Regions from separate parts of the Homo sapiens genome. Here regions 1, 2, 3, 4, 5 and 7 are each linked to region 6. The links are contacts of gene promoters, found by promoter capture Hi-C in human tissues and cell types (Jung and others, 2019). All regions are on one chromosome and are shown on one strand. The core of a region is centred on a gene start or on the middle of the fragment in contact, and the rest is flanking DNA. Distances in the headings are between cores, read along the strand shown. Region 1 has its middle 53 kb from the start of LINC02269. Region 2 has its middle 36 kb from the start of LINC02269. Region 3 overlaps LOC105377543 (a long non-coding RNA gene). Region 4 has its middle 120 kb from the start of LINC02269. Region 5 has its middle 15 kb from the start of LINC02269. Region 6 holds the start of HAND2 (heart and neural crest derivatives expressed 2). Region 7 has its middle 84 kb from the start of LINC02269.

The links. Contacts are between HindIII fragments. The study calls those that stand out against the background at their distance.
Region 1: a fragment that was not itself captured here is called in contact with the fragment with the promoter of HAND2 in region 6 in 2 of the 25 tissues and cell types used here (H1 embryonic stem cells and spleen).
Region 2: a fragment that was not itself captured here is called in contact with the fragment with the promoter of HAND2 in region 6 in 2 of the 25 tissues and cell types used here (H1 embryonic stem cells and mesenchymal stem cells).
Region 3: a fragment that was not itself captured here is called in contact with the fragment with the promoter of HAND2 in region 6 in 3 of the 25 tissues and cell types used here (H1 embryonic stem cells, aorta and mesenchymal stem cells).
Region 4: a contact is called between a fragment that was not itself captured here and the fragment with the promoter of HAND2 in region 6, in 3 of the 25 tissues and cell types used here (heart right ventricle, lymphoblastoid cells and stomach).
Region 5: a fragment that was not itself captured here is called in contact with the fragment with the promoter of HAND2 in region 6 in 1 of the 25 tissues and cell types used here (heart left ventricle).
Region 7: a contact is called between a fragment that was not itself captured here and the fragment with the promoter of HAND2 in region 6, in 1 of the 25 tissues and cell types used here (dorsolateral prefrontal cortex).

What each region holds. Positions count from the first base shown.
Region 1 is chr4:173,842,487-173,845,186 of GRCh38, forward strand. No RefSeq gene overlaps it. Among named protein-coding and RNA genes, the nearest start is that of LINC02269, 53 kb to the right of the region's middle. The HindIII fragment of the contact is 4,048 bases long and covers 1-2,700 here.
Region 2 is chr4:173,860,098-173,862,797 of GRCh38, forward strand. No RefSeq gene overlaps it. Among named protein-coding and RNA genes, the nearest start is that of LINC02269, 36 kb to the right of the region's middle. The HindIII fragment of the contact is 3,563 bases long and covers 1-2,700 here.
Region 3 is chr4:173,969,969-173,972,668 of GRCh38, forward strand. All of the region lies in intron 1 of LOC105377543 (a long non-coding RNA gene), which reads right to left. All of the region lies in intron 2 of LOC105377544 (a long non-coding RNA gene), which reads left to right. Among named protein-coding and RNA genes, the nearest start is that of LINC02269, 74 kb to the left of the region's middle. The HindIII fragment of the contact is 6,623 bases long and covers 1-2,700 here.
Region 4 is chr4:174,020,090-174,022,789 of GRCh38, forward strand. No RefSeq gene overlaps it. Among named protein-coding and RNA genes, the nearest start is that of LINC02269, 120 kb to the left of the region's middle. The HindIII fragment of the contact is 3,426 bases long and covers 1-2,700 here.
Region 5 is chr4:173,880,631-173,883,330 of GRCh38, forward strand. No RefSeq gene overlaps it. Among named protein-coding and RNA genes, the nearest start is that of LINC02269, 15 kb to the right of the region's middle. The HindIII fragment of the contact is 3,094 bases long and covers 1-2,700 here.
Region 6 is chr4:173,528,882-173,531,581 of GRCh38, forward strand. It overlaps HAND2 (heart and neural crest derivatives expressed 2), which reads right to left and starts at 1,348. Exons shown (of 2, transcript NM_021973.3): 1 at 1-1,348. The coding sequence starts at 408. HAND2-AS1 (HAND2 antisense RNA 1) reads left to right here and starts at 1,490. Exons shown (of 5, transcript NR_136196.1): 1 at 1,490-1,658; 2 at 2,086-2,197. The HindIII fragment of the contact is 12,639 bases long and covers 1-2,700 here.
Region 7 is chr4:173,812,342-173,815,041 of GRCh38, forward strand. No RefSeq gene overlaps it. Among named protein-coding and RNA genes, the nearest start is that of LINC02269, 84 kb to the right of the region's middle. The HindIII fragment of the contact is 4,331 bases long and covers 1-2,700 here.

The sequences.
Region 1 (2,700 bases), core at 8-2,507, 310 kb after region 6:
GTTTGTTATGTAACAACAGTAACTGGGTGATATGGTTTTTCTGTGTCCCCACCCAAATCTTGTCTTGAATTCCCACATGTTGTGAGAGGGGCCCTTTGGGAGGTAATTGAATCATGGTGGCAGGTCTTTCCTGTACTGTTCTAGTGATAGTGAATAAGTGTTAGAGAGCTGATGGTTTTAAAATAGGAATTTTCTTGCACAAGCTCTCTCTTTTTGCCTGCTGCCATCTATCTAAAATGTGACTTGCTCCTCCTTGCCTTCTGCCATGATTGTGAGGCTTCCCCAGCCATGTGGAACTGTAAGTTCATTAAATCGCTTTCTTTTATAAATTGCTCAGTCTTGGGTATGTCTTTATCAGCAGCATGAGAACAGACTAATACAGTAAATTGGTACAGGGAGTGGGGCGCTACTAGAAAGATACCTGAAAATGTGGAAGCAACTTTGGAACTGGGTAACAGGCAAAGGTTGGAACAGTTTGGAAGGCTCATAAGAAGGCAGGAAAGTGTGGGAAAGTTTGGAACTTCCTAGAGACTTATTGACTGGCTTTGCCCAAAATGTTGATAGTGGTATGAACAATAAAGTCCAGACTGAGGTGGTCTCAGATGGAAATGAGGAATTCATTGGGAACTGGAGGAAACATGACTCTTGTTATGTTTTAGCAAAGAGACTGGTGGCATTTTGCCCCTGCTCTAGAAATTTGTGGAACTTTGAACTTGAGAGATGATTTAAGATACCTGGCAGAAGAAATTTCTAAGCAGCAAAACATTCAAAAGCTGACTTGGGTGTTGTTAAAAGCATTCAGTTTTAAAAGAGAAACAGAGCATAAAAGTTCAGAAAATTTGCAGCCTGACAATGCAATAGAAAAGAAAAGCCCATTTTCTGAGGAGAAATTCAAGCCGGTTGCAGAAATTTGTTTAAGTAACAAGGAGCCAAATGCTAATTGCCAGGACAATGGGGGAAATGTCTCCAGGGCATTTCAGAGATCTTTGTGGCAGCCCCTCCCACCACAGGACTGGAGGCCTATGAGGAAAAAAATGGTTTCATGGGTCAGACCTAGGGCCCCTTGCTCTGTGCAGCCTAAGGACTTGGTACCCTGTGTCCTAACCCCTCAAGCCATGGCTAAAAGGGGCCAAGGTACAGCTTGGGCTGTGGCTTCAGAGGTTGAAAGCCCCAAGCCTTGGCAGCTTCCACGTGGCGTAGAGCCTGCAGGTGTACAGAAGTCAAGAACTGAGGTTAGGGAACCTCTGTCTAGATTTCAGAGGATGTTTGGAAATGCCTGGTTGTCTAGGCAGAATTTTGCTGCAAGGATGGGGACACTCATGGAGTACCTCTACTAGGGCAGTACAGAAGGGAAATGTGGGGTTGGAGCTCCCACACAGAGTCCCCACTGGGGCACCACATAGTGGAGCTGTGAGAAAAGGCTCAGTGTCCTCCAGACCCCAGGATGGTAAGTCCACTGACAGCTTGCACAATGCACCTGGAAAAGCCGCAGACACTCAATGCCAGCCTGTGAAAGCAGCTGGGAGGGAGGCTGTACCCTGCAAAGCCACAGGGGTGGAGCTGCCCAAAACCATGGAAATCCAGGTCTTGCATTAGCGTGACCTGGGTGTGAGACATGGAGTCAAAGGAGATCATTTTGGAGCTTTAAGATTTGACTGCCCCCACTGGATTTTGGACTTGCCTGGAGCATGGATCCCCTTTGTTTTGGCCAATTTCTCCCATTTGGAATGTTGTATTTACCCAATGTCTGTGCCTCCATTGTATCTAGGAAGTAACTAACTTGCTTTTGATTTTACAGGCTCATGGGCAGAAGGGACTTGTCTCAGATAAGACTTTGGACTCTTGACTTTGAGTTAATGTTGAAATGAGTTAAGGCTTTAGGGGACTATTGGGCAGGCATGATTGGTTTTGAAATGTGAGGACATGAAATTTGGGAGGGGCCAAGGGTGGAATGATATGGTTTGGCTGTGGGGACACAAATCTCATTTTGAATTCCCACATATTGTGGGAGGGACCTGGTGGGAAGTAATTGAATCATGGGGGCAGGTCTTTCTTGTGAAGTTCTCATGACAGTGAATAAGTCTCATGAGATCTGATAGTTTTAAAAACAGCAGTTTCCCTACACAAGCTCTCTCTTTTTGTCTGCTGCCATCCGCATAAGACATGGCCAGCTATTCCTTGCCTTCTGCCATAATTGTGAGGCCTCTCCAGCCATATGGAACTGTAAGTTCATTAAACCTCTTTCTTTCGTAAATTGCCCAGTCTCAGGTATGTCTTTATCAGCAGCATGAGAACAGACTAATACACTGGGACAGAATTGGACACCTGGATGTGAGGTGCTGCTGTAACAAAAATCTAAAGCATGTTGCATTGGTTTTGGTACTGGGTGGAAGACAGGAGCTTGATCTCGAAGAGCATTTTAGTAAAAATTGGAAGGGTCTCCAGAAAAGTGTTAGAATCCTAACGGCCTTAGGAGCTGTCAGTAAAGGCATAGAAGAAAGTGAAGGAAATATTATTGGAAGCTGGGGGAAGTGAGAGTCCTGTTATTGCGTGGGAAGTTTAGCAGGACTGTTCTTTGCAGTAACATGGAAAAGAGGAAATCAACCTAATCATCTCAGTGACAGCTAAGATTTCCAGGCAGAATGTTGAGGGTGCCTGAGGAGAAGCGAGAGATGAACTAAAGGGCATATTGTTCAGCTT
Region 2 (2,700 bases), core at 54-2,553, 330 kb after region 6:
AAAGGTCAATCTGGCTTCAAAATTCATTTATCTTCTTGACCCTTGCCTTTTCATCTTGACACTCTTCGACTCTGGACAGCCTCTGTTTTCTTTCCTCTCTACTTTTGCTTCTGGGCTTCAAAGCAAACCACAGTGATCTTTTCCACTTTTGTGTACATACTCAAGGTCCTAGACTCACCTCCACCCTCACATTTACCCACTGACTTCACTTTCTATTTTAATGAGAATGAGATCACTTCATGGGAATTCTCTCTACTTCATTGCTCATTGCTTCTGTCTTCTTAATTATCCTGTCTTCTTTTGTTCATTCTCTTTTTTTCGCTTCCTTGTAACAAAGTAGAAATTCAGTAAGCATTTGTTGAATGAATAAATTATTGCTTCTTGATCCCAGTCCCTCAAATGGTAGCACTTTGCCCTGCTTCTTCCTGCCCTGCATGAAAACATAATTAATTTTATCTGTCTTAACAGTTTTCTTTTTATAAAAGACAATTTTTTTGATTATGCTTATTGTAGAAGGGAAAATACAAATTTTTTAATAAAATAAAAACTACTCCATAGAGAGAAAAACATTGATAACATTTGGTGTATTTACCTTTTAAAATGTTTTCATGTATTTTTTCAAATTAAATCACTCCTTTGTTTATTTAAAAACATTTCTTTAAGACTCTAATTTCTCTTACTTGTTGCAGTGCTTCTTCACTGAGTCATTTAAAGCAAGTCACTTAATTTTTTAAAGCTTAAATTCATGCATCTGTGAAACTTGTAAGACCCATTGTGTTAATCCATTTTCATGCTGCTGGTAAAGTCATACCCAAGACTGCGCGATTTACAAAGGAAAGAGATGTTTAATGGACTACAGTTCTATGTGGCTGGGGAAGCCTCACAATCATGGCAGAAGGCAAGGAGGAGCAAGTCATGTCTTAAGTGGATGGCAGCAGGCAAAGAGAGAGAGCTCGTGCATGGGAACTCCTCTTTTAAAAACCATCAGATGTTGTGAGACTTATTCACTATCATGAGAATAGCGAGGGGAAGACCCGCCCCCATAATTCAATCACCTCCCACTGTGTTCCTCCCATGACACGTGGGAATTGTGGGAGTTACAATTCAAGATGAGATTTAGGTGGGGACACAGACAAACCATGTCACCCACTTATATAATTATAGTGTGGAGATCAAAGGTAAGAATTTAGTACACAGCCTGGCACATAGTAAATGATGAACAAACATTAACCTTTGTGATTTAGTTTCTCTTTTCACTTTTAAACTTCTTTAAAAGTTTGTCTTCTTTCATTACCTCATCGTTATCAACTATTCATTCCTTTTTCTTGAATAACCAAAAAAAAGGAAGAAAATACAAATTGTCAATATTACGAATGAAAGGAATATAGCCACAGATCCTATAAGCGTAAAAAATAATAAAATATCATAAACAACCTCATGACAACAAATTTGAGAGTGTAAATTAAATAGACAAATTCCTTTAAAATTTCAACTAACCGAAACTTACTGAAGAAGAAATAGAAAATGTGAGTAGTTCTGCATTTATTGGGGACATTTAATTTATAATAAAAAAACTTTTCACAAAAAAAACTTTGTATCCAGATTGTTTCAACACTGAATTCTATACAAAATTTAAGGATAAATTAATACCAATTGTATACAAACTCTTTCAGAAGACAGAATAGTAAGTCACTTCCAACTCATGCTATAAAATCAAAACAACCCTAGTGACATACCTCACAAATACTTTTTTTTTTTTGAGACAAAGTTTCGCTCTGTCACTGAGGCTGGAGTGCAGTGGCACCATCTCAGCTCACTGCATCCTCCGCCTCCCGGGTTCAAATGATTCTCCTGCCCCAGCCTCCCGAGTAGCTGGGATTACAGGTGCATGCCACCATGCCAGGCTATTTTATTTTGTTTGTATTCTTAGTAGAGATGGGGTTTCACCATGTTGGTCAGGCTGGTCTTGAACTCCTGACCTCATGATCCGCCCGCCTTGGCCTCCCAAAGTGCTGGGATTACAGGCATGAGCCACCACACCCGGCCACAAATACATTTTTTAAAAAGGACATTACAGACCAATATAGCCCATAAATATAGACCAAAAATACTCCCAAATATTATCAATTTAACCTAGCCAATGAAGTTTATCCTAGGAATGCAAGGTTGAGTCAATATTTGAAAATATATCTGTGTAATTGGCCACATTGATAGAGTACAAAGCAAAAGCAAAAGATCACCTTAAAAATGCAGAAAATTCATTTGAGAAAACTCAATAACCATTCATAATAAACATTCTAGAAAAGCTAGGAAAAGAAGACAACTTCTGCAATCTGATTTTTTAAAAAAAGCATCTATGAAAATCTATAGCTAACATCTTTCTCAATGGTAGAGGATTGAATACTTTCTCCCTAACATTAGGAATGAGCTTAGTATATCCATTCACAGAACTGCTATTTAATATTATATTGGAGGATCAGGAGTTCAGAGAAGATTGGTGTTACTAGGTGTTATTAGTGATACTTGAGGATGGCTAAGGTATTTTGAAACTATGAAGTATGCATAGGCAGAAGGAATACAGGAACAGTTTGACTAAAGGTTTAAAGGCAGAATTAAATATAGTTTAGTGATAATAAATTGGAAAAATATGTTAGGTATAGGTAAAAAGTAACTTCCTATTCTTATTATAATTTACGTCAA
Region 3 (2,700 bases), core at 159-2,658, 440 kb after region 6:
ATTTTATCCTTTATTCTGTTAACAACATGCATAACCTTTACTGATTTGCATATGTTAAATCATCTTTTCATCCTGGGGTAAATTCCACTTGACTTTTGTTAATATTTTCTTGAGGATTTTGCGTCTATGTTCATCTGACATATTGGCCTTTAATTTTTTTTTTCTTGTAGTGCTCTTATTTGGCTTTTGTATCAGAATAATGTTGGCCTCATAAAATGAGTTTGAATATGGTCCTTTCTCTTCAATTTTTAAAAAGTTTTAGGTGGTGTTAATTTTTTAAATGTTTGGTAGAATTTCCCAGTGAAACCATTTTGTCCTGGGTTTTTCATTTTTGGGAGGTATTTGATTACTGATTCAGTCTCTTTGTTATAGGGCTGTTCAGATTTTCCATCTTTTCATGATTCAGTCTTGGTAAGTTGTATGTTTCCAGAAGTTTATCGATTTTTTGGTTAAACAATTTTTTGGCATAAAAATTCTCATAGTAGTCTCTTATAATCCCTTGTATTTCTGTGTTATCATTGTAATGTCTCCTTTTATTTATAAATTTACAGTTGGGCACATTGGCTCACACCTGTAATCCCAGCACTTTGGGAGGCTGAGGTGGGCAGGTCACTTGAGGTCAGGAGTTCTAGACCACCCTGGTCAACATGGTGAAACCCCGTCTCTACTGAAAAAATGCAAAAAATTAGCCAGACGTGGTGGCACATGTCTTTAGTCCCAGCTACTTTGGAAGCTGAGGCAGGGGAATTGCCCGAACCCAGGAGGTGGAGGTTGCAGTAAGCCAAGATCACACCACTGCATTCCAGCCTGGGTGACAGAATGAGATTCCATCTCAAAAAATAATAATAAAATAAATAAATAAATAATTTTATTTCTTTCTTTTTTGAGTCATATCTCTTTTATTCTTGGTTAGTCTAGCTAAAATTTTGTCAATTTTTAAAATCTGGTCGATCAATTTTCATTCATATTTTCTATCTTTTTAAATTTCAATTTCATTTACTTCTGCTCTAATCTTTATTATTTACTTCTTTCTGTTAACTTTGGGCTTAGTATGATCTTCTTCTTCTGGTTCCTTGAGGTGTAAAGTATAATTGTTTATTTAAGATATTTCTTTTTCTTACTGTAAACATTTATCACTATAGACTTCCCTCTTGGACTGCTTATGCTGTTTCTTATACTTTTTGGCATGTTGTATTTCCATTTTTGTCTTAACATATTTTTTGATTTACCTTTTTCTGCCTTCCTTGACACATTAGTTGTTCAAGAGGTTGTTGTTTAATTTCCACATATTTCTCCATATTTCAATTGTCTTCCTATTCTTGATTTCTAGTGGCATACCACTGTGATTATAAAAGATACTTGATACGATTTCAATCTTCTTAAATTTGTTGAGACTTGTTTTGTGACTTAACTTATTTATCCTAATGTTCCATGTTCACTTGAGATGTTTGTTCAGCTGCTGTTGGATATTTACATATGTTTTGTATATGTCTGTTAGGTCCATCTGGTCTAAAGTGTAGTTCAAGCTCAATGTTTCATTTTTCTTTTTTTGGTTTTCTGTCTGAGTAATCTATCCATTGTTCAAAGTGGTGTGTTGAAGTTTCCTATTATACTTGCATTGCTTTCTATTTCTCTCTTCATTTCTATTATTATTTGTTTTATATATTTAGGTGCTCCATGGTGGGTACATACTGATTTACAATTGTTTTATCTTCTTGATGGATTGACCTCTTTATAATTATATAATAAGCTTTTTTGTGTCTTGTGACAGTTTTTGACTTACAGTCTATTTGGGCTGTCATAAGCATAGCTAGCTCTGCTCTGTTTGGGTTTCCATTTACATGGAATATCTTTTTCCATTCCTTCATTTTTAACCTGTCAGTATTCTTAAAGCTAAAATGATTGTAAGCAGCATATAGTTGAGTCTCATTTATTTAATCCACTCGGCCGCTCTTGTATTTTGATTAATTTATTCCATATACATTTTAAGTAATTATTCATAGGTAAGAACTTATTTCTGCAATTTTGTTAATTATTTTCTAATTATTTTGTAGTTCCTTTGTCCCTTTCTTCATCTCTTGCTGTCTTCTTTCGTGAATTGATTATTTTTTTGTAGTGGTATACTTTGATTCCTTTCTCTGTATCTTTTGTGCATCTGCTATATAATTTTTTTCCCTGAGTTTATTGAGTTGTCTGTGTTCTCTTTTATCTTGCTGAGCTTGGTTATAATAATTGTTTTGAGTTATTTTCAGTTAATAACAAAGGAATAACATTTCATATATCCCCATTTCTTTGGAGTCAGTTACTGAAAAATTATTGTGTTCCTTTGATAATGTCATGTTTTCATTTTTTTCTATGCTTCTAGTGGCTTTGCATTGATATCTTCACATTTGAAGCAGCAGTCACCTCTTCCTTTTGGGTTGGCTTCAGTGGAAAAAGACTGTCATCTTTGGATGGCCACAAGGGTGCCAACTAAATGAGGTGCACCACTTCCATTTCTGGGTTGGGGACAGCAGTGCAGCCGCCTCGCAATTCCATCAATGTCAATGTGAGCAAAGGCTGTGAAGGTCCTTGGCAACCAAGGTTGCAGATGTCGGTGGTGGTTGCAGCTGCAAGAGTTGTTGGGGTCCTTGGCAAAGTCTGCTGGGATTTTTCTGTTCTCCTCTCCCTTATGGGAAATAATTCTAGCTGAGGGAGTCT
Region 4 (2,700 bases), core at 90-2,589, 490 kb after region 6:
ATAACATATATGAAATGAATGGATCGGCTATTCAATGATATGTTCACTTACGGAGTATCAGGTCAACCTGAAAGAAACTAATATAACCCCAAAGTTAAAAGGAAGATACTATTGTAGTAAAAACTTGAAGCCTCTTAACATATCTGTTAAAAGAAAACAATAAGCATTAAGTTTAATAAGCTTAATAGACTTAACCGAAACTAGCACAAAGGCAGTTCAGTGTTAAGAGTAGGAACTGCCAAATCACTGCCATTTGCCCACTTTTCTTCTGGCTTCAAATATGAAATCAATTATGTTAATTTTTTGAATACGTTGGAACATTCCAAAATTTTATTATAATTATATAGAATATTAGATAAAACATTTCCTGTATTTCCTCCAAAATGCTAGAAAAGGAGTTGTATGGTAGATAATTCTTAACTGACTTTGCTCTTATCCATTCCTACTTAGAGATTTTTCCCGTATTTGTGATAAATGTGCAGGATTTTTGTATGTGAAGTTTCAGTAGAAAACATTTGTCTTATATGTTCTTAGTTTATACATCTTTGGGAAAGCCAGTCAAAAGAAACATGAGAGCTATTTTTAGGTGCTTTCCCTACATTTTTATTGCCTTTTAATGAAAGAGATCTTTGGGTTTTTGGGGAGGAGATGATAAATAGTAGGGAGTGTGAAGTTTAAAAGAACATATATCTTGGCTATAAATTCCATAATGTGAATACAACCTCTTTTGTTTAGATCTCTTAATTTTTTCTCCCAGCAATGTACAGTCTGTTTGGGAATCATTCACATACTTAAGCTGTATTTACATATAAGAATCATGCTTTGGTGAAGTAGGTGATAAAGGCATGGGAATCTTCCAGAATGTAAAGAGAAAAAAAAATCAAATAATTAGGAGTAAAAAAAAACACTCCAAACTTAAAAAACATTCACTCATATTTAGATTGAGAGAAAACTCAAAATGCTGAGCACATTCATCCTGATGAAATTTCGTAATTAAAAAAAGGAAAAAATTAGACAAGCCTCCAAAAAGAGAGAATGGAAAGGGAAAAGAGAGAGGGAGAGATGGAGAATGAGAAAAAGAATTGCCTACTAAGAAATAAGAATCAAGAATCAGACTGCATTAGACTTTTACCAACCAGATTTTAGAAGAGAATAGAGGAATTTATTCATAAATGTATTCAGAGTTCCAGAAAGACATTCTGAATCTAGAATTTTAAAATTATGTATACTTTGTATATACATATACACATGTATGTTATTTTTGAAGAGGTGTGCTCACATGGCTCAAAAATCAGAACAACATAAATACATACAGAGAGAAGACCTCTACATCTGTCCCCATCCACTCCCTTGTATATAAGCAGATTTACTAGTTTTTTTGTGTATTCTTTTAATACTTTATAAATATATAAGCAAATGTATATATATAATCTTCTCCTTTCTTATACAAAAGATAGCTTACTATAAATATTGTACTATTGCTTTCTTTAATTACTTAATAAAAAATGTTAGAGACCTGACTATTTTAGTACCAAAAGATCCTTTTTTTTTTTTATTGCTGCCTAAGCCTGTGTAGTGTGGATACACCAGAATCTCTGGGACCAGTGCCTATTGTTGGATACTTAAGCAGTTTCCAACTTCTTAGTGCTGTAAACAATCGTGCAATTAATAATATTTAATATACGTTACTTCTTAAATACCCATGTGCATCTGTAGGATGATGTTCCAGTGGTGGAATTACTAAGAAAAGTTAAATGCATTTAGGTAAATAGTATCAAATTTCCTTCCTTTGGAGTTGTTCCATTTTGGAATCCTAAAAACAATGCATGAGGATACTAGTTTCCCCACAGTTTTGCCAGAAGAATATGTCAACCTCTGGGTTTTTGCTAATAAAATATGTAAAATATCATACCTCTGTTTAAGTAACATTTGCATTTCTCACATTACTGTTAAGGTGTTGCTTCTTTTGCTATGTTTGTGGGTTGTTTATGTAGTTATCTGTGGATGATCTTAACTGTTTTGGGGGAGGTTGTTAGTTTATCTCAATTACTAAAAGTTATTTATATATTTGGGAATTAGCCTTTGTTGGTGACATGAATTACAATCAACCCTCTACCACCACCACCGATTTTGTGTTTATCTTTTGAGTTTGCTTGTAGTATTTTTTCCATGCAGAATTTCTTGATTTTTATGTAGTTAAAATTATCCTTTTCATCTTTAGTGACTTCTAGATTTTGTATTTTATTAAGAAAGGTCTTCCTCATTCCAAGGACATAAAAGAATTCAATGATATTTTCTTGTACTTACATGGTCTTATTTTTTAAATTCAACCTTTAATCAATTTGGGATTTATTCTGGTGTAAGATGTGCAATGCTAACTTACTCCAGATGCTAGCTAATTGTTCTAACACCAGTAATAAATTTATTTTTTTTTAATGAACATGAGACAGAAACCCTGGACTAGTTTTTTTATAACTTCAGATTGGGAAAGACTTTTCTAACTGTCATACAAAATCCGGTAGTCATGAAAAAATTAACACTGATCATTTTAACCATATAAAAATTAAAAGCTTCATTTTTCTCACTTACTTGTGATGACATCCTTATTGTATGCTAGATTCCTGTATATATTTTTCTTTATGGACTTTCTATTATGTTTTATATTTTCATGCAGAAGTACCACAGTTTTACCTTTTGAGG
Region 5 (2,700 bases), core at 64-2,563, 350 kb after region 6:
AGTAGTTAATCTCACTGAAAATCCTTTCAGTGAGAAAAAAAATATGTGTGAGCTTTAACTACAATGATTCTCTGGCTAATGAGATGCCATTGATCATGTGGAGAGGAAAGTAATATCCTTTGACATATAAAACTGTATACAGTGGTTATGGAATCTAAATCTATTCCTTTGCTAGAGTGAAACATTACTAATGAAAACAAAAAAATGCATTAACCTGTAAAAAGAAACTAAATTTATTGACAAGAGTTTGCAAATCACAGTTAATTGAGTCTCAGATGAAACTTCAAATAAAGGAAATAATGTGGTAATTGGGCCCCTCATCTTATATAATATACTTGTTGGCATACATTATGGGTTTGCTATCTTTTAAGAGTATTAAATCATTGTACAAAAACATTGCCAAAAAGACTCTTCATTTCCTTTTAGTGACTTCTTACTGCCCTCAGTGGAAGTTTAATAGAAAAGGAAGGACATGATGTAGTTTTAATGACAGGAAACCCATGGCCTTCCAAATGAATAAATTCCATCACTAGCTGCCACAAAGTGTGCTAATTATTTCCTTTGATAAATTAAAAGCTGTAAAAGTCCGAAGTATATAAGCATGTGGTTTACAGTTATAATCAACCTGTCTGCATTATTGAAAGTTCATATTATCTTCACTATTTAATAAAGCATTAATTTTTTATTCCAACAAATTGTATAGAAAGCATGTACATAAAGCATTAAACTTTTGCTGATTTGACAGATGATTAAATAACTAAACTTTGTGTTTCTGACCTTTAAGATGCTAAAATCAAGTATTGATTTATTCCCCTAACACTAAACCTTGAAGATGAAGATGAAGATCATTATGAAATGATGAAACAAACCAAATCAAAAGCCAATCATGTCCAAAGTGTGTAGAGGAATTAGAATATTATACTTGATTTTTATTATTTTATTTTTAATATCAGCTAAATCACTTGGGAGTGAAATACAGCAATTCAATCATTCAACAAAATTTATGTGCCCCATGTGCTCTGTGTGAATTAATTTGTTAATTCCACAATCATTTATTTAACCTTTGCCATGTGTTCTGGGGGTACAATAGCAGTAAAAAATGGACTCCATCCTTGTCTTCATAGAGCTTGCAATATAGTGAGAGAGCCGTACATCTAGTGATTGTACAATCATCAACCTGGAAATGTGACAGGGAGGTTTATGGCTTGATGAAAGCTTACTAACCATAGGAGCACTGTCCTACTCAGTCATAGACGTTCGGCTTCCCTGATAAAAGGCGGCTCAAATTGAAATATGAACGATGAGCTAAAGAGAACAAGGAGAATTCCAGGCAGGGGTACAGGCATATGTGAAAGGCTTTGTGGTGAGCCTGAGAGAAGGTCCATGTGGCATCAGTACAGGAGGTGAAGTGAGTCAGAGCCCAGCTTGCCTACTCAGTGTCTCTGTGCACCTTTTTGTCAAAGTGGGTGCAGACTGCACCAGGGCACATGGATTGTTGAACAGCATGTGGGCTGTATTTCGGCCCCATCACCTCCTTGGCTGAGTGCTCAAATGCATGACCTTCGCATTGTACATAGCAGCCGTGGGGAAAGTGGAGCAAGCTAATGTAACAGTAAAGAGGTTGGTAGAGCTCAAGTAATGTGAGACCTCGCAATTTGGTAGCAAATAAAAAAGAGTGGCTTCTACTAAGTTTAATCCTGTCAAAATAATCCATCTTTAATTTTGTACAATTTCTAATATTTCTCCAGTTTCAACTCTAAGCTTTTCAACTAAGGAGAATAAAACATCTCACTGTAGTCATCCTATTTTGTGCTTTGTCTTGTTTTTGCATTCAAGAATGATACCTGTTGTGTTCTCAGCCATTTGTTCTAACTCCATTTAGACTGGTGAAATGAAAAAAAACATTTAATGTGACTTATTGGATATACGCAGTTAAATCATGGCTTCATACCTTACATGAAGGGACTATGGTTCTGCTAGAATTTAAATTATTTGGTAACGTTTTACAAAAGAACTGATGATGGTTTCATTCTTTCATTCCTTCCATTTTTAGAAATTCTTAAAAATCCATCCAGCATCCACTTTACCAGGTACTCTGAGAGGGGCTTAGGAGACCCAAGAAATGCATCCAAGTCCCTGTCCTCAAGGTACTCACTCACTATGTGAGATGGTCACACTAACAGGTGATTAAGAGACAGCGACCCATGGGCAGTAGAACCCCGACAGAGTATCTTAATTCAGGGGGCCAGAGAAAACGTTCCAGGCAGAGACTGTAAGGATCCCTAAGAGCAAGCCGAGCAAAGAATAGAAGAAGAGGCTTTCAGGCTGAGGGGACTACAGGAACAAAAGTAGGGGATGGGAAAAACATGTTGCTGGAGTGTAAGTGTAAGAAAAAGAGAAGCAAGAGCTGGGAGCAGAGTGTTGGGAAGGGCCAGATCAAGGGGCTTGAACATCAAGAATCTTGGATTTAATTTTGTTGGTGAAAGGGAGCTATTGAAGACTCTTGCTTCTTTTGGAATCCACCTAGAAAGGCCTTATCTGGGGTCTAGGCCTCAAATTAGAGGTTTTTTTTTTTTTCTTTTTACACCTGTGCCAAGCATCCAGTTGTTTCATAAATGTTTCTCAGAATAACACAATCTGAACATGGTGGGAAGACTGTTTAATAACTCAGTTTAGTAGAGATTTACAGTTTCAATATAT
Region 6 (2,700 bases), core at 98-2,597:
GGAGAGTTTGGTGTCGGCGGGTACGTTGGGGATGCACTCGCGCAGTTCGGCGAAGGCGCTGTTGATGCTCTGAGTCCTGCGCCGCTCCTTGCGGTTGGCGGTGCCTCGGCGCTTCACCGGGCGCGGCCCCCCCAGGCCCGGGGGCCCGGCGCCCGGCGGCACCCCCCCGTAATGGGAGTGGTCCAGGCCGGCGGCGCCGCTGGCATACTCGGGGCTGTAGGACAGGGCCATGCTGTAGTCGGGGGGCGACATCTCGGGGTGGCCGATGAGCCAGCCATGGAAGTAGGGGTTCTCCTCATGGCTGCAGCGGCTGGCGGCGGCGGCGGCAGCTGCGGCGGCGGCGGCGGCAAACGGGTAGCCCTCGTGGTGCACCACCGGGTGGTGGGGAAAACCACCTACCAGACTCATTTCGCCCTCCGCGCCCCTCCACGCGCCCCAGCGTGCGCGCAGCCCCGCCGCGCCCTCGGCCCGGGCCCCTGCCTCAGCGCTCGGCGTCCTCCCCCACCCCCCACCCCCCAGCCCCCGGGCGCCCGGGCCCGCCCGGCAGCCGCAGAGGGGGCTGCTGCAGCCCGGGCCCCGTCCCCCCGCCTGGCCAGCCGGGCCCGCCTCAGCAGCGCTGCGGCCGCCGGCTCCCCATGGGGCGCGGCGAGCTGGTCCTGGCACCGTGCGCCCCTGGCCGCCGCCGCCGCCGCCTCCGGTTCCCGCCTTGCTCCACGGCCCGCGCTTCGGCTCCTGCTTCCCGGGCTGCTGCGCGGAGGCAGAATCCTCTCGTGCTCATACAAAGGTGCCGGGGCTCCCGCGAGGCTGGTACGCGGAGTCTCGGGAATCCAAGCCCGGGCCGCGGTCCTGGCACCGAAGCTAACCCGGAATCCAGGGGCGAGTCTGAGCCGCGGCTGGAGGAGCCGGTCCAGCTGTGCCGGGGGGCGGCGGGGTCGACTGCTCACTGCAAAGCTACCTCCGTGCGACCCTCCCCTTCCCGCCTCTTCCCCTCCCCCCACCAGCCCGATCTGGGTTCTTGGGCGCTTATTGTTTTAATGAAATTTTTGGTTGTTGTTGTTTTGGTCCTTAAATGTGATTTTAGCTGCGAGTAACGTGTCCTCGCTCCTCTCGCGCTCTCTCGGAGGGTTTTCAGAGAGGTCTCAGTGCATCCATTTTCTCAGATCCTCTCCTTTCGGGGCAAGGATCTGGGGCCCTGAATGAGCCTTGGAGCTCGAAGACCGCGGCTCGGGCTCTCGGAGGGCTCTGCGCGGTGGCCGAGGAAGCTCCGGGGTGACGGCGGTGGTTCTCCTGGGCTGGACGACGTGAGGGGAGCAAGCGGATTTTCCCAGCAAGATCTCCATGTACAGCTACATCTTTAGGGCCGCTCGGGTTAATATATGTCGTCAGAGGCTCCTCACGCCAATCCCGGGGCGGCAGGGGCGGCGCCTCGAGCTCTCGGCAATAAAACTTTTTGATGTTCACGTTGCTAATTGCCGAGGTCCTCTTCCAGGATTGGCTACCTCCTCATAACCATAAGATAATTAAAACTTGGCGGGGGGGGGGGGCAGGGTTAAAAAAACTTTTTTTATCAGTCAGAGGATAATGCAAGTGTTTAACAGATGCTTCACTATTAAAATATTTTCCCCCCAAGTCTCAAATATTGAAGAATCTCTAACCAGGTACAGTATCACTCTGCTCTCTTTTCTGGTTGAAAAGAAAGAAAGAAAGAAAACGCAGGTATTGCTTTTCGAAGTGCTTTGTAGGTAATCGAGGTAAGAAAATATACGCAGGCAGCCTCTTACAATTTTATGCAGGGGCGCCGGGAGCCTCGTGACGGGCGGTGGGGGCCCCCACAAAGGCGCGGCTGGGAGCTGGCGCTCTTTGCCCCAGCAGGGACGAGGAGCGGCTGGAGAAGGGTGTTTCTTTGACCCGTTTACAGGCTCGAAACGCCGGTCTCAGTGGCTATTGAGTTACCCACCAAGTTACCCCGGTTAGAGCTGTTTGGGGTGGCTCACGTTATTGCGGCAAACTTTGGAGATGACGGCTGAGTCCTCCGGGCGAACATGTCAAGCCGATTGTAAATGCTGTTATTTCCACATCCTTCAGGGACACCAGTCCCTACGAAGACCTTGGGCGATTTTGAAGTGCGGGCACCTCGATTCCCCGAATCTGTAGTGTGGCTGGTATCGGTGTTCCCCTGGTTTAACTAGCCTGTTTGGTAAGTAACTGAATATTTTTTACGGCGTGTTCAGAGCTTATTTTCCAGTTTTTATGAACAAACATATAAATATATCTCTGCATTCCTGCCTCCCTCATAAAAGCGGGCATCTGTGGAAAGCAGGTTTAGTTATCGGAGGGGAACCATTAAACGCCAGTTTAAGAGGCAGGCCGGGAGGACGGCTCGTGGATGTTGAGACTGCTGGCCTTGGTGATCTTGAACGCATTATAACGGAAAATGGATCTCCACTTGTAAGTCACCGGGCCGCGGGGCACCCGGGCCGCAGCGCCCGTGTGGCATGAGCTTCTTGAGAAGGCTCACGTGCGGCGAGGGCGGGTGGTAAATGGCAGGAGCTGAAATCACCCCAGGCTTGGCCCCAAGCCGAGAGGGGAGGCTGATGTGTATATGCAGATTCCACCCGAAGGAGTTCGGTGTGGAAAACGGTGTCAACAGGAGCCCGCGGGCTGTAAATTAGAGGGAGGCGAGGGCCTGCGGCGCCAGCG
Region 7 (2,700 bases), core at 108-2,607, 280 kb after region 6:
CAGCCTGACCAGGCTTCTCCTGGCATAAACATTAACACTCTAAAAACACACAGATATTGGCAATAAAAACCAATGCTTATTATTATTAATATATTTATTACTTTTATTTTCTCTAATATTTTCTAATGATATAAACAAATGCCATTGTTGATAATTACAGAGAAGGTTATAATAAAATACATGGCAACAACAATGATGATGTGTCTTATCATCTCATACTTGGTTAGATGAAACATTATTGGATTTAAGAATAAATGTTTTAACAAAATTTGTTATCTATGTAATAGGCAATTAATAAAAAAAAATTGTGTATCTCAAAGTCTATTCATTTACCCCTCTTAAGAACAGAACTACTATTAAGACTTGTTGATCGTGAACTGCATTTTTATATCATGTCCTCATAAAGACTCTGTGCCATGGCTGAGAGAAGAAGGTTTTAGAAAGCTACCCTTGCTGGTCTGCCTTTAGGTAAATTTAAAATTTCTGTCTTCCCTGGGTTGCTTTCTTTTTTTCATTTATTCTACATTTTTTTTTCCAGAAAATACATTTATAGTAGAAAACCCAATGAAATTAGTGAAGACTGGAATACAATTTATTCAGTCGTAATTACCAAATAATGAGCTGCAATCCAGGGCAAATTTCAAAAGTCTTTTTAAGGGAAACACTAAAATTATTAACAAATGCAAAGTAAAACATTAAGTATATTACTTCTTAATGAATGTGTGAGACGTGTCTTCAAAATAATCCTAAAGGAAACAAGAGAGTGTAAGAATATGAAGGTAGCCTGAAAAGACTTATTTTTCTCTACTAAGTGATCTGCTTCCTAGGAACACTTTGGTTATTTTCCCACACACACTCCTGGTCACGAAGAAAAGAGTACAAGAAAAGAGACCATTTGGATTTTGTGATTAGATAGAGACTTTTCCTGAAGGGTTGCTTCTGAAAAAAAGTTGCAATCATTAAGATAACTTAGGGGTAGCCTTAATTGTATGCTTCCTTCTATCAGCTCTCATCTCTAGAGATCTGCTTACTTTGTAGTGGAACCTAAATGAACTTTCAGATACACTGAAACTTGAAACTTTCACTCACATTCATATTATTTTCAACAGGAAAACATAGGAAACTAGAACTTTTCTTGCTCCCAACTCATTACATTTAAAGTGCACCTTGGTCTTCAGGGCAAAGTGAGTGTTAAATTCATATTTTCACATATATGCTTTCTATAAGTATGTTTGAAGATATATCTTTGATATATTGCTGTTGCTTTTATGTAAACATAAGATCCAATTACCTCATATATCAAACTTGTTATGTTTATTGATATTGCACTCTTGTTCTAATATTTTTTACTACTCTGAATATTTATCCCATAAGTCTATTAATATTTTATCATGTCAGATGGACAATGATTAAAAATAAAACCAGCATCTATCTGTTAACCCAAGCTCCTTTCTTCACTTTCTTTCAATCTAGCATCAAACTTAAAAGCATGTATTGCACTGCTCACTTTTAAGTTTATAAAGTTAATTTGACTATTTAAAATAGTTGAACATAATGAAAAAATGAAAACTCTAAGAATAAAGACCCACCCAAAACTCTCACAAGAGCAGACCAATTACACATACATATAAAAACTTAATTGCATTATGCCCCCAAAATATTAAGCAAGTAAAGTAGAAGCATTTAGATAAAACCTTCCAACTACTTTATGTACAGCAACTCGTATGACTTCTTTTTTACTTAGAATTCAATCTATTGAGTTCCACAATAGGAATCATAGACTCATGACATTGCATTAGAACTAAGCTTAACTTGAGTATTTTCACTCTGAAAAATATATCCAAGACAAATGGCTTTGTTTGTACACCAAAACACATGGGAATTTTACTTAAAAGAGAAAAATTGAAAAAAAAAACCAGTGCCTTCAACAGTAAAATGGATAATTGCAATATACTCATTAAACAATATGAAATACCTATAAAAATAATAAACTGTTGTTATAAGCAGCAACTTATATAAATCTCACCAGACATAGTGATGAACAAAGCAACCAGAAACAAAAGAGTGCATATTAAAGAAGAAATCACAAGAGGAATTAGCAAATTAAAAACAATTCATTTGAGATAAATGAAAACAAAAAACACAATACAGTTGATCCTTAAACAATACGCGTTTAAACTGCATGGGTCCACTTAGACACAGAGTTTCCTGTGCTGCCGTCACCCCTGAGACAGCAAGACCAACCCCTTCTCTTCCTCCTTCTCTTCAACCTACTCAATGTGCAAGCGACAAGGATGAAGACCTTTATGATGATCCACTGACACTTAATGAATAGTGAATATATTTTCTCTTTCTTACAATTTAATAATATTTTCTTTTCTCTAGCTTACTTTATTGTAAGAATACAGTACATAATACACATAACATAAAATATGTGTTAATGAATGGTTTATGTTATCGGTAAGGCTTCTGGTCAACAGTAGGCCATTAGTAGTTAAGTTTTCAGGTAGTCAAACTTACACATGAATTTTTACTGCGCAGGGGGTTGGCACCCCTAACACTTGTGTTGTTTCAGGGCTCACTGTATACTAAACTTTATAGAATGCAACTGAATCAGTGCTTACAGGAAAACTTAGAGCTGTAAACGTCTGGATTAAAAAAGAAAGATCTTAAATCAATAACCAAAACTTTCATTTTGAG